2 separate regions of the Homo sapiens genome follow, and region 2 is linked to region 1. The links are contacts of gene promoters, found by promoter capture Hi-C in blood cells and fetal thymus (Javierre and others, 2016). All regions are on one chromosome and are shown on one strand. The core of a region is centred on a gene start or on the middle of the fragment in contact, and the rest is flanking DNA. Distances in the headings are between cores, read along the strand shown.

The links. Contacts are between HindIII fragments. The CHiCAGO score rates a contact against its expected background, and 5 or more counts as called.
Region 2: a contact is called between a fragment that was not itself captured here and the fragment with the promoter of DEXI in region 1, in 4 of 17 cell types (fetal thymus, non-activated CD4 T cells, activated CD4 T cells and 1 more). The highest score is 16.9, in fetal thymus.

The regions. Positions count from the first base shown.
Region 1 is chr16:10,939,221-10,944,491 of GRCh38, forward strand. DEXI (Dexi homolog) reads right to left here and starts at 3,248. Exons shown (of 2, transcript NM_014015.4): 1 at 2,349-3,248. The coding sequence starts at 2,785. The coding sequence ends at 2,498. It also overlaps a transcript of CIITA not described here. RefSeq lists a silencer at 2,838-3,387 and an enhancer at 4,957-5,136. The HindIII fragment of the contact is 2,950 bases long and covers 2,168-5,117 here.
Region 2 is chr16:15,637,240-15,642,510 of GRCh38, forward strand. It overlaps MARF1 (meiosis regulator and mRNA stability factor 1), which reads right to left. Exons shown (of 27, transcript NM_014647.4): 2 at 1,851-2,052. The coding sequence starts at 1,994. Among named protein-coding and RNA genes, the nearest start is that of MARF1, 3.3 kb to the right of the region's middle. The HindIII fragment of the contact is 6,127 bases long and covers 1-5,153 here.

The sequences.
Region 1 (5,271 bases), core at 1,998-4,497:
ACTCCCCTCATCCAAGCCTCTGTCACCTCTGGCCTGGACAACTAACAGCATCTGAGGTGGTGGCCCTGCTTCCCCTCTTACCCCTCAGCTCATTCTGTCCACAATTGCCAGAGTCATTTTTGCAAAATGGGAATGGGATTGTGTCATCTCCTGCCTAGAACCTTCCAATGGCTTTCCACTGCTCTTGGCTATGGCCTTCCAGGTCCTCCATGGTATGGCTCCCACCCACCTCACTGACCTTTCCTGGGGCTGTTCTCCAGCCACATGGGCCTCCTTTTGGTTGCGGAAAAACCAACTCTCTCTCACCTGAAGGTCTTGGCACCACTGATTCCCTCAGCCTGGACTGCTTTTCTCCAGATCCTTCTATCAAATTAAGGCTCAGCTCAAAAGCATCATCTCCTTAGAGAGGCTTTCTCTGACCCCTCAGCTAAAGCAGCCCACCATCTCTATCCTACCGTTTCACTTCTGTTTCACTCCATGTCTACACCTACAGAGACCGTCTACTAGAGGCCAGGCACAGTTTTAAGTGTTGAGGACATGGCAGTGAACACAACAGGGAAGCTCATGTCCTTCTTGCCTGCCTTCATAGTTCCGAAAAAATCTGATTCTCTTGTTTGGGTTCCTACTAGTCTTCCTCACCAAGTGCCAAAGGGCCAAGGCTTGGTCTGTCTTGTTCACTGTGTTCAATCACCAGGCACTGTACTGAACCAACAAGCATTCATTCTGTAAAAGAACGGACGGATGGATGGCAGGCAGGCAGGCAGGCTGGGGAGGTGTGCAGAGCACCTGGCACACACTCCCCCTGGCACTTGGTTCTCGCTAAGATGTTACTGAGCTCAACTGAAGCTTTTTCTTCAAAGAAATCTCACTGTGAACCCATTAGGAGAGCCCTCTGCCGCCAGCTATGCTGTCAGTAGGTCCTACCCCACCCTGTACCACCATCTGCAACAGACTCAATGTTTGTGTCTCCTCAAACTTCATATGTTGAAACTCTGATCCCAAATGATGGTATTGCGGGGTGCGGCCTTAGGGAGGTGATTAGGTCACGAAGGCAGAGCCTTCATGGGTGGGATTAATGCCCTTATAAGAACAGTAAGAGATAAATGTTTAAGTCCCCCAGCCTATGGTGTTCTGTTATAGCAGACTGAACTAAGACACCCTCTGCCTGTGGTTGTCTTGGCAAAGCCAGGTAATGCAGGAGAGGGGTGGACTCAGCCTGCTTGCGGTGAATGGCATTAGTGTCCATTTTCCTAAAGGAGCCCTTGCCCACCATATCTCAGCATCCCCTCTTCATTGCCACTTAGACCCTGTGCCCAGTGACACTCCAGTACTGTCCAGTCTCAGGGGCTGAGCCAAGGCGTTCCTGCCTGCCCTGTGACCCTCACCAGACCTGGCAGCTGCCTGACAGCTTGTCTGGCTCACGTGTTCTCTCTAATTGAGTCTAGCTGCCTCTCTTCCTTGTGACTATGACCAAGTCTTACTCCTTCCTGGACCTTCATTTCCCTACCTCTCACATACACAGTGGGCTGGATGCTGGATGCAAAGCTCCCTCGTCACAGCCCCAAAGACAGGACTTGACCATCTCAGTGCAATGACCCTGTGGTGCCTTCTCCCGAGGACCTAAGAGCCCCCTGAGCGCTTGCAAACACTGCAGACAAAGCGAGCCCTGGCACCAGCTCCCTGCCTGCCTGTTCTGTGAAGGGAGCCTACAAAACTGGCAGCCCCTGCAGTTCTGAGCTGCAGAACTGATGAGCTGGGGCACCCTGAAACCTGACTCCAAAATAGCAGCAAACCCAAGGCCAAAAGGAAGTACGGGCTTCTTTGCTTGCGATTTCTCCTCTCACAGCTTTGGCCTAGAGCCCCTGCACTTAATCCCCACCCAGCTACCCCAAGGGCCACAGTACAAAGGTGATTCGTGCCTGGCTCCCTGTGTCTTCTGACACCCCTAAATCTTTATCCTTCTAGGACAAGCGAGAATCCCCCAAAAGCCAAGGTCATCATCAAGCCAGGATGAGGACTGGAGGAGGAGCTGACAGCTCTGCCTCAAATGGATTTGGGAGCGAAGGCTTTTTCCATAAGCTTTGGGGGTAAGTCACAGAGCTACCCCAAATGTAACTTAGTCTCGGGGTCTCCTTCCTTTTCACCAGCTGTCCCCTTTGCTGGAGGAAGCTTTCCAGCCCAAACGAAGGGCTTAAGAGGAGTCTGGCCATTCCTGGCATCCAGTTAGACCTGGAGGAGGTGAACGGAGGAGAAGCCTGAGGGAGGGGTGTGTATCCGGCCTGGGAATTCCTCCCTCTCCCTTGCTAGCGCCCCAACCCGCCCTCATCCTGTTCAGAGAGGGCACTTACAGGCCTCGGAGGCAGGGGAGGGTCTCCTCCTGGGGAACCATCCCCGTCCAGATGGTGCCCCCAACCAGCTGCGGCGGCATGATCTGGGCGGCTGGTCCAGGGCATGGGTTGCGGATCGTGTAGGGAAGAGGGGAACAGCAGTCGAGACCCTACTCCAAGTACGCATCAAAGACGTCGAGCTCCGAGTCAGCATCGTAAAGGCCCGAGCCGGGGTCGGAGAGCACGCCGAGGTCCACGAGCGCCTGGTCCATGTCCTCGGGCAGGAAGACGAGGCCCACGTTGAGGACGATGTACTCCATGAGGAAGGCGTAGTACAGGATCAGCACATTGACGAAGAACAGGCCCACGTAGAACATAGAGGGCAGCAGCGGCGGCGGCACGTAGGGGACCAGGGGGCCCAGTGCGTCCAGGTGGGCCGCGACCCGGGCGCCGAGCATGCAGCGGGTGGCAAGGGCGGCGGCCCGGCGATCCCGGCGAACTCAGCCGCTGCGGCGCCCGGGCGGCCGGCGAGGGCACAGCGCAGCCATCCAGGGGTACCCTGGAGCCCGACAGAAGCAGGGCCGGGCTCCAGATGTCCCCTGGCAATTGCGCCCCGACCCCCGAAATGCGCCGGGCGGGTCACCGCACCCCGAGATGTGCCCCCAAGGATCTCTCGACCGCCCGGGCGGCGAGGCGGGCCCCCCTGAAGTGGCCCGCGGCTGCCCGGCTCCCTCGTGGCGCCTCCCTGGCGCTCGCAGGGCCTCGCAGAGCCGGTGGGGATCCCACCGCGGCTCAGTGTCTAGGGCCGGTCCCGGCAGCCTTCTCTCCCGCCCCGCCCCGCAGGTCCTCGCGCACCCCCCGCGCCCCCGCAGGCCCAGCACCCATGGCTGCGGCCGCCGCGTAGCCCTCCCGGTGGCGCTCGGAGCTCCGCCTCCCGAGGGGCCCCGAGCTCATTGGCAGGCCGCCCCCTGCACGCGCTAATTGGCCGGCTCAACGCCCGCGCTGATTGGCTCCGGCCGCCAGGGGGCGGGTACCGCTTCGCTCCGCCCCTCGGGGCCCTAGCGTCTGAGTTGCTTTCCTGGTTCGGGTCTGCCCTCAGATCTCAAATCGAATTCGCTCTGCGTATCGAATAGGGGGAGGTAAAAGAGACTGAACACAGTTCAAACCTAGACATAATGCTAAGGCCGCAAAAGCCGAAGGAAACCCGGGCTACCGCTGCACCTTGCTGCATGCCTCTTTGGGACTCCGTTTCTCCTTTAAAAGGAGGCGGGGTCGGGGAGGGGCGACGGACGGTTGCCCTGGAAATTTTGGACATTCCCAAAGCGCCAATTTTCATGGTGGAGATCCACCAGTGTCCCCTTCGCTTCTCCAAACTCTGGTTGCTGGAAGGTCCGCCCACTACGGAACCTGCATCCTAGAGTTAAGGAACACCTGAATAAAGAGATTCCGAGGTAGTTCAGATCTTCAACCATAAGGATGCTTTTTGTTTCTTTTTACTTTGTGAATCATGTTTAAAAGCAATAATACACATGGCTAAACATTCAAACAACCGTGAAGTACACAGAAAAGTGAGTCTCTCCCACCCACTGGTTCCCCTGCTCTTGGGTAACCGTTGCATGTCTTTCAGGAAAACATGATCTCGCCCAAAGAGCCTTCCAAAGCAGTTCAAGAAACCTTTAAATCTCAGGCCACACTGAGCTGAGTATTTTACATGCATCGCTTAATCGGAGGTATACAAGGCAGTGTAGTATGTATGTGCGTACTTTTTACAGATGAAAAATACGAGCCCAGGGATCCTACATTTCTGAGCCTGGGTGTGTTTCTTTGGAGGCCAGATCCTGTTCTTTTTTGCTCCATGACTTTGTCTTGCCCCACTCTATATGAATTACAGGACAAACCATTAACTCTCCACTCTTATCCATTTCTCCAACTGCTGAAGGTGAAACAAACCTTTACTCATTCATGCACTCTACCAATATTTGTTAAACACCTGCTATGTGCCAAACCTTGTGCTAGGCACTGGGGAGAACATTGGCCTCTGGCCCAGTTCTTTCTTGAGCAGAGTTAATGGGACACAGTGGACCTTTAATAAGGTTGATATGTAGAAGTGACTGAATGAATGAATGGATGGTAAACTTGAGAAGTCTTGCCCACACTGAACTTACCACTTCTAATCCAGGGTAGAAGTTAGATATATTCTGGCTCATGCAGAAAGTTGGGTGTTTCCTTTTTCATTTTAACGTGGTACTTTGGGAAATAGCATGGATTCTGGCTGAAGACCAGAGGAATCCTCTGGAAGTACAAAATGTTCAGTTTGGTGCATTGTTGCATCCAGCCTTTTCCAACACACACACACACACACACACACACACACACACACACACACACACACACACACACTTAATTGAAGTGGAAAAAGAAAAAGGCTGTCAGGACAAATAAGGTTGTTATCTAGTGCCGTTTTGGTTTATAAAGGGAATGAAAAATAAGGGTGCGTGCGTGGTTATGAACCCTGGTTTTGCCACTTGTTAACTGCATGATCTTGGGTAAGTCAACCTCTCAGTGACTCCGTTTCCCTGATGATAAAATAGGTTCGATAATAGTACCCAATTCATAGGATGGTTGTGAAAATTAAATACCTTAATATGTAAAGCCCTTAGGATAGTGGCTTTGCATAGTATACACCATCCAATACTATTCTTATTCTTATTATAAATCTAGTAATTGTTACTACAGTGGTGACTTTCCTTGACCCATCTACGCCGATTCCCTCTCCGGGACTGCGCCCAAAGCTTCCAATTCCCGCCCACCCGGAGGATTCTGCGGTCGCTCCTCCTCTCGCCCCGCCTTTTGTGGATGGCCGTAGGCCCGCGGTTGCACGATGCATGCCGGGCCTTGTAGTCCGTTCGCGGAGTCCTGCCGCCGAAGGCCACGCGGGTGAACT
Region 2 (5,271 bases), core at 840-3,339, 4.7 Mb after region 1:
TAGCCACTGAAAGGGGACTGAATTCATCAGCCTTCACAGGCTGACTGCAAGAGACATTAAGATGAAGAGGGGGCCCTGCTACAGTGACTGAGACGTGCTCACCGTTCACAGCATATGAGGGTCCATCTGACGCCTAAAATTCCACTCCCTTTGCTGTGATTCTACACTCACCTGGGAGCATAGGCTCATCTGGAAGAAATGTGAATTTTCAGCTAAACTTTCCCTAAAAGGGAGATAACAGCAACGGGCTGACCAGCCAATGAACTGCCCTCTTGGTAATTATAGTTCAGACTGAAATTAACACACTGGTATTCTGATTTATACAGATCAGGCTCATACAGGCAGGCTTACTATGAGTTGATCCCCTGAACCTACTCCATTCTGCATGCCACTGACAAAATTGAGTTTCAAGATCTGTAAAGTTGACCGTGTAATTCTGAATTGTGTGACTCCATGAGGACCAGATCTACCACCCCATCCCAGGAAGCCTTGCTTTTGATGCCAACCCTCACTGTCAACTGTCTCTAAAATAAAACACTCCTAAAATGACCCAAATTACTTGATGTCTTGCAACAAAGACAACTATATAGTGAAAACCTAGAGAAAATAGAGAATTAAACTGGTTTTTAAAAAGTTATTAATACCCGGCCAGGCGCGGTGGCTCACGCCTGTAATCCTAGCACTTGGGAGGCCGAGGCGGGTGGATCACCTAAGGTCAGAAGTTCAAGACCAGCCTGGCCAACACGGTGAAACCCCATCTCTACTAAAATACAAAAATTAGCCAGGCATAATGGCGAGTGCCTGTAAACCCAGCTACTAGGGAGGCTGAGACGGGAGAATCCCTTGAACTAGGGACAGTGGTTGCAGTGAACCCGGATCGTGCCACTGCACTCCAGCCTAGGGGGCTGAGCCGAGACTCTGTCTCAAAAAATAAAATCAAATAAAAGTTGTTAATACCCTTATATAAAATTATATTACAGTCTCACTTGAATCCCACATACAATAGAAAATAAGAAATAGAAAGGTGGTAACATGAGTGCATGAAGTCAGGAAATGTCAAAATTGGCTGGACGCGGTGGCTCACGCCTGTAATCCCAGCACTTTGGGAGGCTGAGGCGGGAGGATCACTTGAGGTCAGGAGGTCAAGACCAGCCTGGCCAACATGGCGAAACCTCGTCTCCACTAAAAATACAAAAATTAGCCAGGCATGGCAGCACAGGCCTGTAATCCCAGCTACTGAGGAGGCTGAGGCAGGAGAACTGCTTAAACCTGGGAGGCAGAGGTTGCAATGAGCCGAGATCGCACCACTGCACTCCAGCCTGGGCCACAGAGCAAGACTGCACCTCAAAAAAAAAAAAGAAAATGTCAAAATCACAATGAGTAAGCAAGAAGTTAGAGACATAAATGTATACTGAGAAGTAAATATTCAAGAGAAATCTCGAAATAAAAAACAGGCAGTGGATAAGCTCTTCCCAACCCTTCCTAGATTATAGACTCAAAACTCAAGAGGGCTACAGTAAAATACAACATATTTTGTATTTTCCTCTGATTTTACTCCACAATGTGGATTTTTAATCTTTGTTACCTGTGACTTTAATGAGGAAGAAATCTTTCCCAAATTTTAACATTAAATATTCAAGGCATCTACTGTTACTCAAAGTGAAATAGAAGAGTTAAAAAATTGTGCTGTGCTCTCACATTATAATGTGGTATAAGAGGCAATACAGGCAAGATCTACAGAAAAATGTGGCACAGACTCTAGGATGAGAGACTGTATCCCAGACCAAATGGACCTCTCTCATCTATTTGGATGAGGAATCTGCTACATCCTTAGTCTTGCATATAGTTACCGTTTGGGGACTATGTGGCAGCGTCTGCTCAGGACGAGAAAAGCAATTAGAGAATTTCCAAAGCCATGGCTTAGCATCATTATCTTGTTGAAGCCATCCACGTGTTCTACTGCAGGAGTTCTCAGTTCCGTTTCCTTCCATCATACAGCCATGCAAAGTGATTCAACATCCTTTCATCTTTCTTTTCTTTCATTCTTCCACCCTGTTAAGAATGAGTAAGATTTCAGTGTTATTTCCTTGCATAAGTACAAATTTTACAACATACTAAAATGTGAAACCACAGCTATATTTACAGTCCTATGGCTCTCAACAATTCAAATCTTTGTTTCAAGAGGAAGTCTCGCTCTGTCGCCCAGGCTGGCATGCAGTGGTACGATCTCAGCTCACTGCAACCTCCGTCTCCCGGGTTCAAGCGATTTTTCTGCCTCAGCCTCCAGAGTAGCTGGGACTACAGGAGCCTGTCACTATGCCTGGCTAATTTTTATATTTTTAGTAGAGATGGGGTTTCACCAAGTTGGCCAGGCTGGTCTTGAACTCCTGACCTCAAGTGATCCACCCTCCTCGGCCTCCCAAAGTGCTGGGATTACAGGCATTAGCCACTGCGCCCGGCCAACAATTCAAATCTTAACAAACAAAATAATAATAATAAAATAAAGAAAGAAAAAAACACAAAATATCAGAGCATATTACGGGTTAATAAAATTTGGTAAACTTGGTTGACTGTTTATGCTTAAAATCTAACTGCAACAACCTGATTTCTTAAAAAATCTATAATCTGCCATTCTTCATGTTTCATAGCTCTTCAAATAAAAAATGAACTCTCCATGAGTCTTGTTTCCTTTCCACATGTAACCATGTTTGAGAGAGGTAGCCATATCTTGGAAACTTGCATATTCCAGAGTGAGACTTCACCTCCTCACTTGGCTGGAATCAATTTTTTCTACAGTTTTTCTGAATTCTTTTCGGCTCTCTCTCCCTAAAGATGCTGCTCAGGAAAGTCAAAAGTTAACAGAAGAGAGCATCTAATCTGAGTAAAAGAGCCACCACCACATCCTCATTGACAACTATATGTAAGATTTTAAAATTGACTTAAGAGCAACTTCTTGCACTGGTTTCTTGATCTGAGCATGAAAAGTCCAAACTAAGTGGCCTCTGTGGACTTTGAATTTGATTTGCTACAGAACAAATTGAACCAATTTCTTAGTTTACTAATGATGAAAGTGCAATCTGATATACCACCAAAAATCTAACTGATAGAAAAATCTCAAGTCGCAGATGTGTTATATCTACGCCAGAGCAACAACACTCTTACAGGTCTTAACAATAAATGCAAGCGAGGCACCGTGGCTCAGGCCTGCAATCCCAGCACTTTGGGAGGCCAAGGTGGGTGGATTGCTTGAGCCCAGGAGTTCCCAACCAGCCTGGGCAACATGGCAAAACCCCATGGCTACAAAAAATTAGCTGAGCGTGGTGGTGCATGCCTGTAGCCCCATCTACTCAGGAGGCTATGGTGGAAGAATCACCTAAGACTGCGTAGTCAAGGCTGCAGTGAGCTGTGATTGCACCACTGCACTGCAGCCTGGGCGACGGAGTGAGACCCTGTCTCAAAAACCAACAAACAAAATTACATGAAATTAAAATGTCAGTGTCCATAAATAAAGTTTAATTGGGACACAGACACACTCATTCACTTAAATACTGCCTATGACTGCTTTTGCATTCCAATTGCAGAGTTGCAAAGAGAGTCTCTGCAAAGAGACTGTATGGCCCACAAAGCCTATATTTACTACGTGGCTCTTTTGTCAGCCTGGGCAATATAGCAAGATCACAGCTCTAAAATAAAATAAAGTTCAAAAAATTAGCATAGTGTGGCAGCATGCGCCTAGTCCCAGCTACTAGAGAGACTGAGGTAGGAGGATCTCTTGAGCCCAAGAATTTGAGGCTACAGTGAACTATATTGTGCCACTGGCCCTTCAGCGTGGGCAACAGAGTGAGATTCCATCTCTAAAAAAATTTTTGTTTTCAAGTTTCTGTTTCCTCCTATGCAAAATGTGGCTAATTTCTCCCCGCCACTGCATTACAGAGAAAAAAAAAATTAGATAAATGAACCCCACTGTCTATTTTCACCACTGTATCTCTTGTGCCAACCAAAATGCTCCCTACTCTGTAAATACAAAGTAAACATTACCTACTACACACTATTGGGAGTGGTTAATTTGGAGATGGATTTAACTGCTACCACTGATAGTAAATTACGATTCTTGTCTTTCCTATTAGATACAGGTTTTATGTCCCCCAAAAAACTCCTCTCAAAATCGTAAGAATCTGTGATATTCACAGTGTTCATAACTTAAACATTCTCTCAAACTTCTTCAAAGCCAAATCCTGAAAGTGAGCTAACATTCACAGTATAATCTAGTTTATAAAGTATTTTCACTTAACATTACTTATGTCTTCATTCAGCAAATATTTACTTAGTATCTACTATGCAGCAGGCCTGTGCTTGGCACAAGGAATATAATGATGAAAAAAACCCAGACGGTGGGATCCTCTTATATAATTTTTGCAATAATCCTGTGAAATAGACAGGGGAGAAATTAGCTACATTTTTGCAGAGAGAGAAAAAGAAACTTAATGAAGTTTTGTAGCGAGCCTGACACAAGATTAGGCTTGTTCACCCCTTTCCACTACATCAAGGTGCCTTCAATACTGCTCAATACAAGCGATTAAAAGTAAAAACTTTCAGGTGCCTGCACCCTGAAAACTTCCCAAATACCATCCACGAAGCAACTTAGGTAGCCAAAAGCAGGTTCTGTTTGACTTGAGCGACAGTCTCCTTTCTGTCACTCTCTTCAAGTCTTTTGACCAATTCAATGAGGAGAGCATAGGCTCTGTCGACTGTCTGCATTTTGGTCTCCAATTTGACTGCGGTGCAGCTTTGGACAACTCACAACCTCTCTGAACCTCAGATCCCATCTCTAAAATGGGTGTGATAATAATAGAAACCACCTTACAAGGCCGTTGTTTGGATTACATGAGGTAATCCACGGGGAACATTTAGCAAATGTTGTTTCCTTAGCACCCAATCTAGTCTTTGACCCCACACCACCCCATCCCATTACCGTTTTCTCCCCCATAGCTCTTCTGTCCAAAACGGCCTTTTTAGCTTATTTTATTATCTTTCTCCCCCATTAGGCTATAAACTCCATGACAGCAGAGACTATGTTTTCTTATCCACTATTCCAACTCCTGTCCTTAGTACAATGCCTGGCATATTTTAATAAATAACTGTTGAACGAATAAAGCTTAATAAATAGGAAAACAGTTTAGGTTTCAATACACCGATATGCAAAAGAGAAGAATATTTACCGCTCAGAGAAGTCCAAAAGACACAAATGCAATTGGACAGCTCTTGGTAATA